Linked DNA regions of Homo sapiens: regions 1, 2, 3 and 5 are each linked to region 4. The links are contacts of gene promoters, found by promoter capture Hi-C in human tissues and cell types (Jung and others, 2019). All regions are on one chromosome and are shown on one strand. The core of a region is centred on a gene start or on the middle of the fragment in contact, and the rest is flanking DNA. Distances in the headings are between cores, read along the strand shown.

Region 1 (2,700 bases), core at 75-2,574, 240 kb before region 4:
CTTCAGACTTTTACATCTGACCCTGCACTATTATACTTACTCTATCCTTATACTGGCATATACATGTATTTTTTAAAAAATAAAAGTTAATACAATGTTTCTTTTTTGAGACAGAGTCTTGCTCTGTCACCCAGGCTGGAGTGCAGAGGGGTGATCATGGCTCACTGCAGCCTCAACCTCCAGGGCTCAAGCAGTCCTCCCACCTCATCCTCCCAAGTGACTGTAACTATGGGCACGCACCAGTACACCTGGCCAATCTTTAATTCTTTTGTAGGGAGGAGGTCTCACTATGTTGTCCAGGCTGGTCTCAAACTCTTGGGCTCAAGTGATCCTCCTGCCTTAGCCTCCCAAAGAGCTGGGATTATAGGCATGAACCATCTTGCTAGGTCACAAACTTGTTTTTAATTTAACAATTGCTCTCAGGTCATTCTGTATTTCCCTTTGTATCTATTATCTTTGGTACAAAGCAAGCTTTTTTTCTCCCAAAACTGTATAGTGTTACATCAAAGTGATACACTATAACGTATATAATCAGTTTCCAATTGATGGTCATTTAAATTAATCCCATCCTTTTGGTATAACAAGTAAAATTACAATCAATATATATGTATATATGTCATTTTGTGTATGTATAAATATATCTTTAAAATAAATTTCTAAAAGGAGCAAATGAGTAAAGAATATTTTGATAGATACTATTAAAACAGCATCCTAAGTGTTGTGGCAGCTTATGCTTTCAATATATGAGAGTGTTTATCCCCTGAAAATCTTCACCATACTTTTATCCAACTTCTTGATCTTTCCTGACCTCAGGAGAAAATTATCACATGGTTTAAAAGTCTACCTCTCTTTCAATTTGCTCAGTTGAGCATCTTTTTCTTTGTTTAAAAACATTTGTAGGACCAGACACGGTGGCTCACACCGGTAATCTCAGCACTTTGGGAGGCTGAGGTAGGAGGATCACTTGAGGCCAGGAGTTCAAGACCAGCCAGGGCCAACATAGTTGAGACCCTATCTCCACAAAAAATAAAAAATTAGCTGGATGTGGTGGCATGTGCCTGTAGTCCCAGCTACTCAGGAGGCTGAGGTGGGAGGATCACTTGAGCCCAAGAAGATTGAGGCTTGCAGTGAGCTCTGACAACACTGCAACTCCAGCCTGGGGTGACAAAGGCTAAGACTCTGTCTCAAAAAAAAAAAAAATTATATTTTTGAGAATTCCATTTTTCCTTTGTACTAGTAGTCTGGCTAATTTGGGAGGAGTTTGTTTGTTTGTTTGTTTGTTTGTTTTGTTTGTTTTGACGGCGTTTCACTCTTCGTTGCCCAGGCTGGAGTGCAGTGGCACAATCTCGGCTCACTGCAAACCTCTGCCCTCCCGGGTTCAAGTGATTCTCCTTGTCTCAGCCTCCTGAGTGGCTGGGATTACAGGCACCTGCCACACATTTCCTAAGGCCACATAGCTAGGAGTGGGAATCTAGGTCTCCCTGAATTCCTGGGTCTAGCCGAACACACCCAGGTAATTTTTGTATTTTTAGCAGAGACAAGGTTTCACCATGTAGGCCAGGCTGGTCTCGAACTGCTAACCGCAGGTGATGCACCCGCCTTGGCCTCCCAAAGTGCTAGGATTACAGGCATGAGCCACCGCAGCCCGCTGGAGGAGCTTTTAAATATTAATAATATTAGTTCTTTGTGATTTGACCCGCAACTTTTCCCCTCAAGTTATCTGACTGTTTGTATTTGCCCTTTTATGGCTATGTAATCTTAATCCTTCCTAAGTCCCACAGAGAAGCCATTTCCAAACCATTCTGGTTCAACACTGACTTATCTCTCCCTCCTTGAAATTGTACCCTCACTGGGAGCTCAGGGTCACCTGTCTTTTCATGTGTTTATCTCCTATCTCTAAGCAGATGTCAGAGTTCTGAAAGGCAGAAACATCTTTACATCTAACTGTTCAACACATAAACTCTCAGTAATCTTTGCTGATGATAATAATTGTAGCAGCTCTGGCTGTGTTCATATCAAGCCATTGCTGCATGTATCGCCATAACAGTGTGTCTCCTTGATTTATCTTTGGTTTCTTCAAGTTGTCGGAATTTTTGCCAAGAGCAGTTTTATGGAATCAGCACAAACTAATGAAGAAAGTGAGTTATCTTGCATTTGAAAAGATGTGTCTAGGTTACATCTTAGGTCAGCTGTCACACACTATCCCAAGTTCAATGTTGGCTGCTGGCACTGTGCTCTTTTAATGTTTCTAAGTAAGACATCTTCTCACATAGTCCCAGAACTGTCAACAATGAGATAATTTTTTGGGAACAGGAGAATGACCTTGCGATTCTGGGAGGAGAGAACGTGATAGAAAAGATATCAGTGACTGCAATTTGCAACCTGTTGGGAAATCATAGTCCTCTAACATTCACCAGTCTTTTAATCTGACAAGGAGGGGACATTTTATGTGTTCACAGAAACGAGAGAACACAAAGTAAAATTAAACAATTACATGAGAGGAACCATAATCTCTGCCTTCTCAAGTAAAAGATACTATCTGCTGTGTTCGGGACATGATAAAGATGTGCTATATAGTAGACCAGGAGAGCTTTATGAATGTATGTATATATAGATTTGGTTTAAACTTCTTGTAATGTTATGGGCAAAAGATTTGTGGTACAGTTAAGTGAAGAAATTTACATAGCAGTTAAAGTTCTG
Region 2 (2,700 bases), core at 67-2,566, 180 kb before region 4:
GTCAAAGAAAATCGAGGTTTAGAAGGTAGGAGAGAGGTTATTGGGTAATTAGCAGACATGATATTGATACTAACAGTTGCTGTTTCATTTATCTAATGCTGTGCAACAAAACATGGCAAAGTCTAGTGACTTAAACAACGACGACATTTAATACGCTCAGGTCTGGATTGCGACAGGGATCAGCTGCAGTGGCTCAAGGACTAAGGCTGGAATAATCTGAAATCTTGCTTCCTCACATGTCTGGGAGTTGATTTTGGCTGTTAGCTGATGGCTCCACTGGGACAGTGCCTGGAACACCTTCACTGGCTCCTCTATGCAGCTGCTTGGCATCTGCACAGAATGGTGGCTGAGCTGCTTTTTATGACTCAGCCTTGGATATCACATGGTGTTACTATTGCTGTAGTCATAGGCTTACCTCTCTATTCAAGGGGAGAGGACCTGACCCCACATTTTTTTCTTTAAGTCTCCTATCGCTTTTTTTTTTTTTTTTTTTTGAGACAAGTCTCACTTTGTCACCCAGGCTGGAGTGCAGTGGTGCGATCTCGGCTCAATGCAACCTCCACCTCCCAGGTTCTCCTGCCTCAGCCTCCCGGGTAGCTGGGATTACAGGCTCCTGCCACCACGCCAGGCTAATTTGTTTTTGTTTTTTTCTTTTGTATTTTTAGTAGAGACAGGGTTTCACCATGTTGGCCAGGCTGGTCCCAAACTTCTGACCTCAGGTGATCTACCTGCCTGGTCCTCCCTGAAGGCTGGGATTACAGGCCTGAGCAACTGTCCCCGGCCAGACCCCACTTCTTGACAGTAGAATGCCAGATACAATTTGCCCGAAAGTGCTTACATGCCCATGCGCTAATGTCTGAACAAGGTTGTTTCACTTCTACAAATGTTAGCCAAAACACTCTTTTTCCCTCCCTCCCTCCCTCCCTCCTTCCCTTCCTTCCTTCCTTCCTTCCTCCTTTCCTTTCTTCCTCCCTTCCTTCCCTTTTCCCAGATAATTTTTTTAAAAAGAAAAATTGGGCCATGTTGTTTGCTCACTTAAAATGTTTCAATACTTCTCATTATAAATCAAATACAGCCAGGCGTGGTGACTCGCGCCTGTAATCCCAACACTTTGGGGGGCCAAGGTGGGTGGATTGATACCTGAGGTCAGGAGTTCCAAAACAGCCTGGCCAACACGGTGAAACCCTGTCTCTACTAAAAAACACAAAATTTAACCGGGTGTGGTGGCACAATCTGTAGTTCGAGCAACTCAGCAACTCAGGAGGCTGAGGTGGGAGAATTGCTTGAACCTGGAGGTGGAGGTTGCAGTGAGCTGAGCGAGATCTCACCACTGCACTCCAGCCTAGACGACAGAGCGAGAACCTGTTTCAAAAATAAATAAATAACTAAAAAGAAATAAATCAAATACAATTTTTTTTTTTTTTTGCTGCAGTTTATGAGGCCTGGTTTATCACTCCAATTTCATCTCATTTTATTCTGCCCTCTCCTTGCTGTGCTTCTGTTACTGGACATGTCAGATCCACAAACATATCTGCCTCTTTTGCTCTACTGCTTTGCACATGCTCTTTGCTCCTCCTGGGACATTTCCTCCAGCACATTGAATGGGCCAGCCCCTGCTCGTTCCTCACTTCTCAGGGGACCTTTTAATAGATGACCAGCTAAGACATTACATATCAACGTTTATGTTTACTAATTTATTGTTTATTTCCCCCTGTGATATAAAGTTTCACAGCCACAGAAACCTTGCCAGTTTGGTCACTATTGTATATCTGTTAGTAGTATGTTTGGCATGTCATCATAATCTGATGAACTAGATACTGTTATTATCAATAGGAACTGAAGCCCAAGGCTCAGAAATGGCACAGCCACACTGGAATCCAGGTTCTCGGACTCCAGAAGCAATATTCGTATTTGCCCTGCTCTGGATGATTTAGCAAAAGAGGGAAAGGATGCATCGGTTGAGTGTGTCATAGTTAATTGAGAAAGGACTCCATGAAGGCAAGGCCACTTGAGCAGGGCCTTGAGTGATGCATATGCATACATTTTGTCAGATGGTGATTGAAAAAAAGGGTATTACAGGTGGTGGGAAGAGTGTGAACAGAAATAGAGTTGAGAAAGCACTTGTACAGTCTAAGAATAGTGAGTAATTGTAGAATAGGTTGTGGAGGATTTAAAACTGGAAAGGTAGGTTGCATCATTCTGTAGGTAATTAGAAGACATTAACATTGTTTTGTGAAGAGGAGACTCCATCTGTGCTTTAGAAAGCTAAAGCTGCACAGGCAAAGTGTAAGGAGTCAGATGTTGGTCTTGAACAAATCGTATATATACCTAGAATATCATTTTACTTATTTATAAAATGGAAGCTGAGTGCAATGGCTCACAACTGTGATCCCAACACTTTGGGAGGCTGACATGGGAGGACTGCTTGAGGCTAGGATTTTAAGACCAGCCCAGGCAACAGAGTGAGCCCCTTTCTCACAAAAAGTAAAAAATAAATACAATTTGAAAGATGAGAATATAAATAACATCATGTTCATAGTTTTTGGTGAGAGTTAAATAAGATGATCATGTGAAAGTACTTTGCAAACTATAAAGCACTACACAAACATTAGCATTTTCATCATAAGTGTTCTGGGTGGTCCTGGGGTAGGGAGAGTGTACAAGTAGGCACATAGCCAGAGTAGTTGGGCAATGGCAGAG
Region 3 (2,700 bases), core at 34-2,533, 140 kb before region 4:
TCCTTGAAAGGCATTTAACGTTGTGGGATTATATTTTTCTTCCTGACTCCTAGAAAAATATAAATGTCATCGACGTTTGATCTCATCTAGGTAGTTTGAAGGCTCTTCGTTTGTGGGTAGGAAAGTTAATGCCACAAAATGTACTAAAATTCAAAAACATTCCAACTTTAATGATTCACAGCAAAGTCAGAATGCAGGTCAGATGCTGTATTTCTGATATTTAAAAAATACAAAAAGAATTCTTTGAAAGTATGTTTCCAAAAGACAGTAGACATTTGTACTATTTATCATTCAGCAAGAGCTAAATAGCATAGGAACATGGTTATTCTAAGTTACATTTTGAAAAAAGAGAAACAAAACAATTATTTCTGAAAACAGCAAAAACATCAAGCTTGCTAATTTGAACAGTTTTGACAGTTGACACAAAGGAGAGAAAAGGGCCTTTTATGTGTTGTATAAGGAAGATCTGTTGAAGAAAATTAGCTCCTACAGGAATAGGATTGATAATGTGACATATACTCACTCTGATCTAAATTTAACATCTTCCCACGTTCTCATTGCTCCAATGCCCTTCGAGTTACTATAGTGATCCTACCTTGCCATTCAACATTTAATTCCTAGGTAACAGACAACAACCGTGGCGACCAGGGAAGGAATAGGCAAAAATCTATTTATTAAATATTATCTGGAGTTACTTGCTTGAAAAAACATCTCCCCCACAACCCCAGCAGATTTTGGGCTGAGTTACAACTAAAATATAAATTGTACAAGAAGAACCAAGAAGAATTTTCAGGCTCCAATTTTGAGTTTTAGAATCTTGACATAATGGCACAGACCCCCAAAATAAAGATTCTGAAATAAGCACTTTTCATCTGGAGCTGGCCTGGAAAGTCTCTCTTAATGCTTGATGGAGCTGTAGGCAAGGAAATACCCTCAACTAGTTGCGGCTTCTGTTCCATCCACTGATGTTGTACCATATGCTTATCCTTCCTCTAAAATGGGCAGATACATGATGTGAGAGTTTTTTCTCACAAAATTAGCTTGCATTAGAAACTTCCAAATGAAAGACTCTTCTGACCACTGGAAAAACAGAGTAAGTACTTACTAGGTTCGTGCAAAAGTAATTGAGGTTTTTGCATCACTTTAATGGCAAAACCGCAATTAACTTTTGCATTAAACCTCATACATACATCATGTAAGTATACTTATATACATACTTTAAAAATATCTTCTCAGTAGCCTTCTCTTTCAGCTCTCCAGTAAAAGGGCGTCCAAAGATGGTAGCCTTCTCTTTCAGCTCTCCAATAAAAGGATGTCCAAAAACGCATACCTGAGGAGCACAAAAATACCCCACTATTTCCAGGTATTGGTCCTGTGGCAGGCCAGGTCTCACTAATGCAGTCTTCCATAACACCTGCTTCGGTACTGACTGACTGGCTAAGTTTTAAAAGCCAGTGCCCTTATACAAAGACTGGAATGTAACAAAAGCCCACCAAGAGTTTTGCCTAGGCTTTTCCTGAGCCTTAAAGCATAACAAAATAACGAAGGAATCCTTAACGGGACCCATTTAGGATTAAACAAGTTTTATTGGGAGTCTGAAGAAACTCCCCAGGCTTCACAAAGAAGCTTATTGGGGTTCTGAAGGAACTCCCCAAACCTCCATGATTTAGCAGGAGACAAGATAAGGGTAATCACCCCAGCACCTGGACCCATTTAGATCAAGTAAATTTATTGAGGTTCCAGGGGAAGGTCTCAGGACTCAGACCTTAGTTATAGATTAAAAGAAGTTAATCATGGCCAGGCATGGTGGCTCAAGCCTGTAATCTCAGCACTTTGGGAGGCTGAGGCAGGTGGATTGCCTGAGGTCAGGAGTTCGAGACAGCCTGGCCAACGTGGTGAAACCCCATCTCTACTAAAAATACAAAAATTAGCTGGGTGTGGTGGCAGGTGCCTGTAATCCCAGCTACTCAGGAGGCTGAGCCAGGAGAATCGCTTAGAACCCGGGAGGCAGAGATTGCAGTGAGCCAAGATTTCACCACTGCATTCCTGCCTGGGTGACAGAGTAGTGAGATTCTGCCTCAAAAAAAAAAAAAAAAAAAAAGGAAAAAAAGTTAATCACATGTGTCTTTAGATGAATGCACACTTACATGTAGACATATAGCTTACAAGGTATATAAGCGCTGGAAAACTTTGTGATTTTGAGTTGGTCTGGTGATAATTTCCAGGCCTTCTCCCTGTAAACGGCTGCAGAAATAAAAACTCTCTTTCTCCCCAGTTCATCTGCATCTCGTTATTGGGCCACGAGAAATAGCAGCCTGATAGTCAGTTACATCTGGGAACAGTCCTACAATGCAGTTTTCTGTGTTAGAAATAGCAATAAATCCATTCGAATGCAGGGTCCTGAACTAAGAACCCGTACTTTAAAATCTAACTTTTTCATTGCCATGGAGTGAGCAAAGGGGAACACAAACAAAAAATTAATAAAAGCAGACCAAAAGTACACTAGAAAAGTAGACAGTGAAAAAAGGAAAGGAGAGATAGATATGACGAAAATAAAGTGTTATATTCAGAAATCAGAAAGTAATACTGATTGTAACATTTGTTAAACTCTTCCTTTATCCCCAGGCTCATGCTAAGCACCTTACCTTCATTATTGTATGAAGTCCTCGTGGCAGCTATGTGGGCTTGCCACTATTAATA
Region 4 (2,700 bases), core at 70-2,569:
TCATTTCCAGAAACCTTATCTTTAACAAATCTCTACACTATTCATACTTAGCACAATTTCCAATCATTGAAGACATTTTAGTTTTACCTTACAATCAGTACAAAGCAGCTGTGTTAAATTCATTCCATAAGATCAAAACTATACTGTGTCCTTACCCTCAATATTTAGCTCAAAACAAATGTGGCAGAAGGAGAGTGTTTCTTTGTCTGTTCCCAGTTTACAAACACTGCAAATGTTGTCATCATTCAAATCAATGTTTACAAACTGCTCCTCTTCGTTCATAGTGCCCCTATTAAGAAACAGAAAAGGAAAGTTACACAATTTCATGAACCTGCCTTTGGGGTAGTTCCCTTTACTGGGAACTTCTAGGAAATAAGGATGCTGTTCAGCTCATTTAAAGCAAAAGCTCCATCAAACAAGCATCGCCATACTTGCACTCCAACATTGCACTTTTCCTGTGGAAAGACACAAAGCTAGTAAAACTTAAAGCCAGGCCATAGGTGACACTATGTCCGTGTCTTTTTTGTCCTATAGTTGATTGGGTTAGTGGCACCTGAAGGAAAGAGATTTGCCGGCATTCTAGTCCTCCTCCTTCGTCCCCCAACCTCGAATAATCAGAGGGCTTAGCAGCGAGGCCTTTTCAGCTACCAGGTTCTGTCAACCTAGTTAACGCTGTGAGAAACAGGAAAAACGACCTGCACGGGACACTGCTTTGCTAACTTCATTGGGGGAACCTCAGATGCGCCTCGCGAACTCGGAGTTGCGAAGCTTCGCATCGAACGGAGATCGGCGGCAGCAAAATGCACGTGGGTACCGAATACCCGGGGAGGGCGTCCCGCCGTGTCCGGGGCAACTACACCGAAGGCCGAGCGGCGGCTTCACGGTACCGGCCGGGCACCGCCGGAGGGGCCCAAGCCGGAGCTGGGAGAGCCGCGGCATCCTGGAGCCCGGCGGGCGGGAGAGCCTCGTCCCATCGCTCCGGGATTCCTCCCAGAGGGAAGAAAGCGTCCGAGGGCCACGGCGGCCGGTCCGCCCAGCCTCAGCGTCTCGGGGAGCCGGGTCCTGGCCCGGCCTTCGGCGTTGGGGGCGCGCGGCCGCCCCCAGGGAGTCGCGGACCCAAGTCCGTCTTTCCGTCGGTCTGTCCGTCGGGGCGCCTGGCGCGCAGCAGCGCGAGGGGCCACGGGGCTCGGAACTCGAAGGAGGCGGAACGATGGGACTGGGGGTCGGGGCTCAGGTGGGATGGGAGCAGGGCTGCGGGGTCTTTACCGTCCGGCTCCGCGGGCCACCACCGCCGTTCCGTGCGGCTCGGGTTCCTCCACTATTGTTTCCGGCCGCAGCAGAGGCGGCCGCCGCGCGCCTGGCCCCGCCCTCTCCCGCCGGCTCCATCCCGTAAAGGCTGCGGGGAGGGTGGCGCGGCCGCGGGCACACCTGCGCGCTCGCCGGGCTGCTGTGGGTCCGCCCCTCCGCTCCTGCACCGACGCCGCACCTTCGCCTCGAGTTCTCCTGTGATCCCGTGTTTCCTGGCCGGAGTTTCTTACCGTTCTCTGGAACGTAGCTCCTCACACACCCCTCCTCGAGGTGCGTAGATAGACGAATCCGTTCCACCTCTCCCTTCAGCCTAGTGCAAACTACTGCCCCGGGGCGGGGGCCGCAGGCGGCGGGGGTAGGAAAGCCGCGGGTGGATGGCAGAACGGGAGAGGTGCGTGGGTGGCACTTTGACTTCAGGAGAAAGAAGCAGAATACTGTCACTGAACTTATAGTTAAGTGCCAGTTGAAGTATCTAACGAAGGAAAAGTTCATATTCAGGTGTCATGATAGAGGCATAATTTCAAATACAGAATCTTTTCAAATACATTATTTGTTGTGGGGCGCCCCTGCCCCCAATATGGTACATCCCTCAACGCCCACGGGAAAAATCCCGAAGCCCCACCTCTTATTTTTAGGTCCTGCTTGGTTCTCAAATTCTTTGCTTGACTTTTGTTTAAGCTATTCTGTTTTTTTTAGGGTATGGTTCTTGCAGTACTTTCACTTACATTTTCCATTGTAGTCCTCACAGTAACCTACAGAGGAGAAACAGGAACTGTTCTCTCATGTTGCAGCCTACGAGTAATTGACCCAGGTTATCACAGTTGGTTAGAAAAAGGCTGGGACTTGAACCGAAGGCTACTGACCTAAGATCAATGTTATTTTCTACAGCATCATATGTATGTGTTCTGGTTGCACTCACATAGAAAGAGGGCTAGCCTGTCAATCTACATGTAGGCATTCTTGAACTGATGGTTAGGAATGGACTGTCTAGATCTTGGAAACTTCTGGGCCAAATTAGCACTCCAGTTATGGCATTTGTGCCTCGCAGGAGCGATCTGTGTCCTTGCCACCTAAATTGTAGTAGATGAACAAACAACATTGACATTACTTGGTTTCCTGTTAGAAATGTAGAATCTCAGGCCCCACTCGAGATTTCCTAAATCAATACTTGCACTTTAACAAGACCGCCAGGAGATTCCTATGTTCATCGAAGTTTGAGATGCACTAATTGAAATGAAAAGCCTGTGCTTTTTCTCTTCGAATTTCTCATTCTAGGTAACTACGACTAAGATACCTTGCATGTTGGATTCTACCCATCTTTTCAATAAAAAGCATTCTTTTAAAAAGGACTCTTTTAAAGTGATTCAATAAAAGTGTTCTAAAATCACTAAA
Region 5 (2,700 bases), core at 136-2,635, 160 kb before region 4:
GGCTTGGGGGAAAGGGGAGGGATAGCATTAGGAGAAATACCTAATGTATATGATGGGTTGATGGGTGCAGCAAATCACCATGGCATGTGTATACCTATGTAACAAACCTGCACGTTCTGCACATGTGCCCCAGAACTTAAAGTATAATAAAAAAAGATTTAAAAAAGACAAAACAAACAAAAACCAGATAGACATCCATAAAGTAAAACAAATGAGAAAAACTGGCTAAACTTCTCAAACTAAATTATATCAAATATATATATGCATTTTTGCAAAATAAAGTACTAAACTATTCTTTGTAGACATATTCATTACATTTATTTTAATAACTACTTTGATATAGGTTGACTGGCTCTATTCTATTTGTTAAAGAAGGCAAATGTTCCCAGCCATGTTTTACATTAACATGAATTATACTGCCTTTTTTGTTTTTCTGTTTTGGTTTTTTTTTTTTTTTTTTAAGGGGATTTCACTCTTGTTGCCCAGGCTGGAGCGCAGTGGTGTGATCTCTGCTCACCACAACCTCCACCTCCTGGGTTCAAGCGATTCTCCTGCCTCAGCCTCCCGAGTAGTTTGGATTACAGGCATGCGCCACCACGCCCGGCTAATTTTTGTATCTTTTAGTAGAGATGGGGTTTCTCCATGTTGGTCAGGCTGGTCTCGAACTCCCGACCTCAGGTGATCCGCCCACCTCAGCCTCCCAAAGTGCTGGGATTATAGGAGTGAGCCACCGTGCCCAGCCTGAATTATACTGTTTAATGAAGACCCAGCTTTTCATTTGTTTTAAATCAAAGTTATAGGTGCACAAAGTTTAAAAAATAAAATAATTCAACAGAATATTCCAAATACTCCTTACCTCCTGTGATCCATTTTTTTCTACTCAGGATCAACCACTTTCAACTCTTACCTGTTTTGTTTCTTTCTCAGGTATATGACCTTGATGTTTCTAAATAATGTGCTAATATTTCCAGTCTTGTTTTTCCCCAGCCATTATCTATTAATATTTACATCCCATTTTGTTTTGTTAAAATTTTTTATTCTTAATTATGGATACAAAATAGTGGTATAGCTTCCCATTTTGGAAAATGGTGACTCCTCTTTACTTCTCATATCTATACTCCACCCCCATCCCATCACATGAATTCTTCTTTGCTCCCCATCTTTCTAAGGTGGTTATATTATTATTTAAGTTGTAACAAATTATTGTATGATGATGATGATGATGCAAATGCTATTCACAACTATGCCTTGTAGAATACAATGATTTATACAAATATGATTGTTTTTCCTATTTAAAGCCTGGTTTTCTCTAAATTAAATAGCTGTCCTTAAATATTTTTATATTAGTTTTCTATATAATCCTAATTCATACTTTCTGCCAATTGCCTAAATCTCTCCTGGTGTTGCATACCCCTGATGCACTCCTTCTCGAAGATGATAATTTGTTTTAATCTGGAAAGGCTGATCTCAGAGCTGGTCACACAGCTGTATTCATGGAATTGACTATGACCACACTCCTGCCATTTCATTCACCTCTCTCCCCTGTCCCCAGGGTTTCATGTCTTCATTTTTCTTGGTTTACCCACTGACTTTACTTAAGCACATTCTCCAGGTGGTTATCTTAGAGAGGGTGCAGGTGATGTAAAATTCTTGATACCTGAATGTCTGAAAACATTCTTATTCTTCTCTCATACTCAATTGATAGCTTGGCTAGATACAGATGTCTATATTGAGAAATGCTTTCTTTCAGAATTTTTAAGATGTTGCTTTTCTAACTTCCAGTGTGCTGCTGAAAAATCCAAGGCTATTCAGATTCTTGGTCTTTTTAGGTGACCATTTCCCCTCCTCTTTGGAAGCTTGCCTTTGTCCCCAGTTTTAAGACTTTGTGATGATGTGACTTCAGTATGGTTTACTCTTAGCCATCATCTGCACACTATGAATTCTCTTTTAATCAGAATACTTAGGTCATTCTGTTCTGAGAAACTCACTTGAAATACTTCTTAAATAATTTTCTCAGCCTTATTTTCTCTGTTCTATTTCTTGAGAACTCTTATTTGAATATTGAACTTATGAACTTGTCCTCTAAGTTTCTGATTTTTTTCTTCTCTTTTTTATTTTTGGTTCTGCTTTCTGGAAGATTTCTCCAATTTTATTTTGTGAAACTTCTATTGAGTTTGTCATTTATGCCATTACGTATATTTTTCTTTTCACTCAGCACGTTCTAGTCTCACCATTATATTTTTAAAGAATCTAATCTTTTATATTTTTATTTATTGGATATTCCTTTTCTTATGGCAGGCTATACTTGTTTCATGGAAACAATATCTTCTCATAGTTCCCTGAGGATATTAATGATAATACATTTTCTTCCCTCTGTGTCATCTCTGGTTCTTTTGGTTTGCTTACACTTTAACTTTGTTTTCTATTTTTTGTATTAGATGTCTTAAGTATCTAGTGATCCTTCATTGTTTGCATATATTTAAGAATATGGCTCACTTAGAGTGTGTACGTGGAGATTGTGAACTTTGTTGTGGGGATATCTGTGTAGGTCAGTGTCATGTAATATTGTTAGCAGTGGCAAATCTGTACAGGTGTGCAGTGACTCAATTCTTGCCTCCTCTGAGGAAAGAATTTGGCTAAGGGGCATAAGATAGACTGAGAGACTGAGGCAACTTTTAGAGCAGGAGTGAAAGTTTATTA

The links. The method cuts DNA at HindIII sites, captures the fragments that hold promoters and counts their contacts. A contact is called where the count stands out against the background at its distance.
Region 1: a fragment that was not itself captured here is called in contact with the fragment with the promoter of C21orf91 in region 4 in 1 of the 25 tissues and cell types used here (pancreas).
Region 2: a contact is called between a fragment that was not itself captured here and the fragment with the promoter of C21orf91 in region 4, in 2 of the 25 tissues and cell types used here (H1 embryonic stem cells and lymphoblastoid cells).
Region 3: a fragment that was not itself captured here is called in contact with the fragment with the promoter of C21orf91 in region 4 in 4 of the 25 tissues and cell types used here (dorsolateral prefrontal cortex, hippocampus, mesenchymal stem cells and 1 more).
Region 5: a contact is called between a fragment that was not itself captured here and the fragment with the promoter of C21orf91 in region 4, in 2 of the 25 tissues and cell types used here (mesenchymal stem cells and pancreas).

What each region holds. Positions count from the first base shown.
Region 1 is chr21:17,580,662-17,583,361 of GRCh38, forward strand. It overlaps a transcript of CXADR not described here. Among named protein-coding and RNA genes, the nearest start is that of BTG3-AS1, 30 kb to the right of the region's middle. The HindIII fragment of the contact is 6,058 bases long and covers 1-2,700 here.
Region 2 is chr21:17,636,644-17,639,343 of GRCh38, forward strand. No RefSeq gene overlaps it. Among named protein-coding and RNA genes, the nearest start is that of BTG3, 25 kb to the left of the region's middle. The HindIII fragment of the contact is 6,299 bases long and covers 1-2,700 here.
Region 3 is chr21:17,673,833-17,676,532 of GRCh38, forward strand. It overlaps LOC124904999 (a long non-coding RNA gene), which reads right to left and starts at 587. Exons shown (of 2, transcript XR_007067821.1): 1 at 524-587. The HindIII fragment of the contact is 4,548 bases long and covers 1-2,700 here.
Region 4 is chr21:17,818,037-17,820,736 of GRCh38, forward strand. C21orf91 (chromosome 21 open reading frame 91) reads right to left here and starts at 1,320. Exons shown (of 5, transcript NM_001100420.2): 1 at 1,267-1,320; 2 at 156-289. The coding sequence starts at 282. All of the region lies in intron 2 of LOC124900465 (a long non-coding RNA gene), which reads left to right. RefSeq lists a silencer at 935-1,714 and an enhancer at 1,965-2,014. The HindIII fragment of the contact is 15,791 bases long and covers 1-2,700 here.
Region 5 is chr21:17,653,139-17,655,838 of GRCh38, forward strand. No RefSeq gene overlaps it. Among named protein-coding and RNA genes, the nearest start is that of BTG3, 42 kb to the left of the region's middle. The HindIII fragment of the contact is 5,313 bases long and covers 1-2,700 here.